2 separate regions of the Homo sapiens genome follow, and region 1 is linked to region 2. The links are contacts of gene promoters, found by promoter capture Hi-C in human tissues and cell types (Jung and others, 2019). All regions are on one chromosome and are shown on one strand. The core of a region is centred on a gene start or on the middle of the fragment in contact, and the rest is flanking DNA. Distances in the headings are between cores, read along the strand shown.

Evidence for each region. The method cuts DNA at HindIII sites, captures the fragments that hold promoters and counts their contacts. A contact is called where the count stands out against the background at its distance.
Region 1: a contact is called between a fragment that was not itself captured here and the fragment with the promoter of CDC5L in region 2, in 1 of the 25 tissues and cell types used here (hippocampus).

What each region holds. Positions count from the first base shown.
Region 1 is chr6:46,317,371-46,320,070 of GRCh38, reverse strand. All of the region lies in intron 2 of RCAN2 (regulator of calcineurin 2), which reads left to right. All of the region lies in intron 2 of LOC101926915 (a long non-coding RNA gene), which reads right to left. Among named protein-coding and RNA genes, the nearest start is that of ENPP5, 150 kb to the right of the region's middle. The HindIII fragment of the contact is 3,116 bases long and covers 1-2,700 here.
Region 2 is chr6:44,386,321-44,389,020 of GRCh38, reverse strand. It overlaps CDC5L (cell division cycle 5 like), which reads right to left and starts at 1,315. Exons shown (of 16, transcript NM_001253.4): 1 at 1,153-1,315. The coding sequence starts at 1,197. It overlaps LOC124901323 (a long non-coding RNA gene), which reads left to right and starts at 1,102. Exons shown (of 4, transcript XR_007059595.1): 1 at 1,102-1,982. RefSeq lists an enhancer at 1,234-1,433. The HindIII fragment of the contact is 26,922 bases long and covers 1-2,700 here.

The DNA.
Region 1 (2,700 bases), core at 22-2,521, 1.9 Mb before region 2:
CTCAGAAATGGTAAACCCTCTAGAGGTATTCATGGTAATTAACGTTCAGTAACCAAAACGTGAAGTCAACTGAAATGCTCATTCCCTATTCAATGACCATAATAGTAATATTAAAAATAATATTTTGTCATACATCTCTAGACCATCTTTGGTTTATGAAGAACAAAAGGCAGTGTGTGTGTGAGGTGGCAAGAGAGATGGCATGTGTATAACAGATTCTAACCCTCCAGCAAAACAAATGTTGCTATTTCTCCGGTAATAACATGGACTAGAATTGAGGCCATTTTGGAAATAAATGAATTAATGCAAAACTGAAAGTTAAAATTAATGATCTCTAAAACAATTCTTTAAGAACTTAACATTCTTAAATGTACAATACTAAACATTTTCTTGCCTCTGAAGAAAGTAGCAAACATCTTTCAGAGAGAGGGAAGAAATGATTTTATGAAAGTGATACTCCCTGAGAAGGTTCAGAGGCAGATTTCTCAGCCACCTATCACATTTGGTAAAGACAAGGTAGACCGTTCAACTAATAACATTGTTAAGTGGGGAAATCAACTAAAAACTTGTTTATCTGTTTAAAGAATCTTTTAACTGTTGAGAAGTAACAGACATTGGCAGTTGCTACCTCTAACCTAAATGTCAGATATATTAAAACAAAACAGCAATTTTAATGAAAAATTGTTTTCCTAAAGAAACAGATTTTAATGTAAAATTCAGAGAGTGCCATTTGCAGTCTTAGTGATTCTGTTTGAGTCCAACTATCAGTAATTTATATGGGTTTGTTTTAGTACTTTCTGATAAAGCTTAGAATTGACACATAAGAAAGAAAATGATACCTGAAACACTTATTATCACTTTATGTGTTTAGGTGGTAAGCTTAATGGGCTTAATAGGCATTGCAACTTTGCAGTGACTAGCCCAGCTTTGCAAGGAGATCATAAACTATCCAACTCATACCTGGCCTAGAATTTCTTTATGTAAAGGGACAAATGTATTTATGTAAAGGTTCTGTATCCTTTCCCAATGCTAAAGCTAAACTATTTCAAAAATAGAATTTTAAAAACACATGGAGAGGTAATTTCAACTGGAAATTTTGAGCAGGTACAAAGTTATATATACCCATTCCACTCTAGCTAGAATGGAGAGTTAATTGTCAAAGTTTTTGAGAATAAAATGTCTACCAAGTTAGACCTTCCCTAGAAAAGGTTCGATATATGTAATTTCATGTTCACCTTTTGGGTAAGTATACCTGGGTAAAACATATGTGTGTACATATATGTATATACGGATATTATACACATGTGCAAATGTATGTATAACATGCATATTTACTATATATTTCTCTTTTTTTTTAACCTTCTGTTACCATAGAAGGTTTTTTCTGGATCCTCTACCTATTCTACAATGGCACATCTAACTAGTTAATGGTAATTGCGTGCTTTTAACTACATCAAGGGATTAAGGGCCCAAAGAAGATTCTTGGCAAGTGAGTTGAATAGAAACTTGAACAATTGCTAAAGGAAACTCCCCTGGGAGTGAAGGGGACTAAGAAATTCATTATCTTCTCTTTTTATTGTTATATACCATAGCAGTGTCCACATCCTTACAGTCTAGTACTACAACAGTTATTCTTTCCAGAATCTAATATATCAGCTCTGAACTATACTTTTTTTTAATGTTTCAAAAAGGTCTTGATCCTTTAGCTTCCAGAAAGATGACTTTAACCTATCTATGCTTCTGTTAGATTGGACTATGTACTAACTTTCATTTCCTAAAACAACATCTTCAATAATGTTTTATTTGCTCCAACAATAGGATACTTTGCTATTTAATTGTAAGATTTTCTTCCCCTACCTCTGGTAGTTCTATAGAAATATGTGAGCAGTGTTCATGCTGTACCCCAAACATTTAACCTCAGGGGACTGTTTACTAAGTTGAGCATTAAACCATCCCACATGTCACCACATGGTGACAAATGTAAGCTCCAGAGATATTCATCTCCATGGATCAATATTATATGTTATCAAGGTGGGCAATTTTAAAACTTCCAACTACTGTTTCCAATCACAAAATTCTTCTAACTACAAGGCATATAACAGGTACTTCATATAATCCCCATTATAGCCCAAGGCATCTATGTAGTTGCCCCATTATAAACAGATTCCTGATATTCAGAGAAGTTACCTTTTTACACAAGATTACACAGCTATTAATTGGCAGAAGTGGGACTTGAACTGTTCTTTCCACTATCGAAATCTCTCTAAGGATTAATTAATAAAGCATTAATCAATTATTGGGGTATAGGCCGGGCGCGGTGCCTTACGCCTGTAATCCCAACACTTTGGGAGGCCGAGGCGGGCAGATCAGAAGGTCAGGAGATCGAGACCATCCTGGCTAACACGGTGAAACCCCGTCTCTACTAAAAAATACAAAAAAAAATTAGCCGGGCATGGTGACAGGCGCCTGTACTCCCACCTACTTGGGAGGATGAGGCAGGAGAATGGCCTTAACCGGGGAGGTGGAGCTTGCAGTGAGCCGAGATCATGCCACTGCACTCCAGCCTGGGCGACAGAGAGAGACTCCATCTCAAAAAATAAAAATAAATAAATGAATAAATAAAAGAAAAGTTATTGGGGTATAAAGCTGGGAAGATAAGACATTGAACTCATATGTAATATTTCATCTGATGCTTAAAAC
Region 2 (2,700 bases), core at 66-2,565:
CTTACTCAGAGGCTACTATGTGCCCTACTCTGATCTAAATATTCCAAACGTATTAACTCGTGTAATCCTCAAGAGAGGTTAAGTATTATTATCCCAATTTAGAAAAAGTAGAAAACTGAGGCTTTCAGAAGTTAAGAAACTTACCGAGTACCACACAGAGGATGTGATGCTTACAAAAAGACAAAGCAAGTTTTAACAAACGGAAGAAAAAGGTATCATGAGAATATCGGGGGTGCAATTAATTCTTACAGAGATTCCAAGAAGTGTTTCCGAACTAGGTTTGAAGGATGATCAGAAAGATGTCAAGCGCTAGGAAGGCAAAAGATGTAAAAAAAAAAAAAAAAAGAAGCCATAAAATGTAACGAAAAAAAGACACAGAGCATGAAAAGACATGATGTGCTCCAGAAACTGATAAATTCGGTACACTCTGAACACAAAACGCACTAAAATCTAATTTCTATTTCACTCCCACTCTACTGCCCTTTGGCTCACCAATGGCACTATCCACTACGTTTCTGGAAACAGAGACTATCCTAGGCCAGTTTTTCCTTTCTGGCTTCTATCTAGGCAAAGGCAGTGACAGAAAGAGACAGACCTTGGGATCTGTCGAGATGGCAGACAGGTTATGCCCTGATAACAGATAACCAGAGAGATGCGGGCATAAACGGGCTCTCTGAACCTGGCACTCAAACTGCTTCCCCTCTGCAAGGAAGTCAATGGAGACACAAAGTTGTGGCCACGGCAACTTCTTTATTTCTGAGTATGAGACAGAGTCGTGGTGCCTGGACTAAGAGTGGATGGTGCCCCGGGGGACCAACTCTGGCTGAGTTGGAACTCTGAGTTCTTCCCGGGGCCGGGGGGGGCGGGGGGGCGGGGTGGGAGGGGGCGTATTCAAGTCAACAAATGTTCACTCAGGGCCTAACAAGTGAGCTTGGAGCCGAGTAGCCAGGTGGTGACATCACGGTCCCTGTCCTACTGGCGCTCGCACAACACGGGGCCAGACACACGGAAAGGGCCCCAAGGGTCAGCCCCCGGGCTGCCCTCCACGCAGACCCCACAGGGTCTCCTCGTCGCCCCCCCGACCTCCGCGCGCGTGCGCACAAGCTGCTAGAGGGAGCGGCGGGCAGCGGACGGCGGGAAAAGGAGACTTACCTCGGTATTCCTCCATACGCCCCCCTTGATCATAATTCGAGGCATCTTGGCGGCAGGGTGTCTCGGCAAGCAGCCGAGAGGAGCTTCAGAGAAGTAGTAACAGCGATTGGGCCACCGGACTCAAAGCCGCCACTTCCTCCAAGCGCGACCTTCTGCTTTGAAGATCTGCGCAAGCGCAAGGTGGGAGGGGGCGCAGAATAGCAAGTCTCGCGAGATATTGGGTGGCTGAAAGGGAAAAAGTGTCTTGTGGAAGCTCAGCTGCAGGAAGACTAACACAAAACCATCAAACCACTCTGGCCAAAGCGCCTTACGCCCCGCGCATGTCCAAAACAGAATGGAAGAAACTACGGCTCTCGCGAGATAGCGGCGGTAGCGCTTGGCTGGGAACTTAGTGGTGGGATTGATCGTGACGTCACCGAGTGGCAGAGGGTGGGAACGTCACGCGTACGGAATTTCAGCACAGTTGCTCCGAAGAAGGCTTTGTTAATTTATTAATCTAGCCCTTTCAAGTATTTCAGTAATAGGAATTTATTCACAGAATACTCAGGAAAATCCAGTAGTTTATTTAAGGCTCAGTTTCCTAACCTGTAAAATAGAGATCATAGTAATGCCAACCTCACAGGATTGTCGTAAGGGCTAAATGAGATCATAGACCCAGCACAGTATCTGATCCATAATAACTGCTGCAAAACAATAGCAGCTATTACTGCAAGGAGGGCAACGCCAACTTCACCCCGTCCCCAGGTGATCCAGGCTTCTTCCAGAAACCTGCAGAAACGTCACGTCAGAGTTTTTAATTCATCGCCCAGTCTGGATTAATAATGCCATTGGTACGCACTGGTATTAGACAAAGTCGAGTTGGGTTGAAATATTGTGAAATCTTGGCTTTCTCATAAGTTTGGGTAATAACCTTACTGAATCTCAGTATCCTCATCTGAAAAGTGGAGCTAACAATACCCGCCTCGTAAATGAGGAGGCAGATTAACTGAAACATAACTAAAACCCAGTGAGGTAGGGATTGGCAAACTCTCTGCTACCCCACCCCAATTACTCATGCAGTCTCCTTCATCCTTCCAGAACATCTCTGGCTCCATCCCTGGAAAATATCAAAATATTTAGTGGGTTGGGAAATGCCCTATTTATAGTACTTAGTATTTATATAGTGCCTATCTCTTTATATTTCTTCATTTCTCCGTTTGCCTCTTCTGGAAGAGCTACAGAATTTTCTTTTTCCTTTTAGCTTTTATTTACACACATTCTGTGCAATTATGGTCAGCAAGAGGGCATTTTCCATGGCCACCCTGGTAGTGTTTGCCACTCAAAGGTTTATGCTGGCGGGCAGCCCGCCCTTGAGCTGTTTACCCACTGTGTGGTGTATAAGAAACCATTGGACCTGTGGCCAGTTAAACTCAAACAAAATGTTTTCATTTGGACCTCTCCTGTAATGGGGCGGTTTTTTTTTAATTTGTTATATTTAATTTTTGTGGGTACATAGTACACACATATTTATGGGGTACATGAGATATTTTGATACTGGCATACAACACA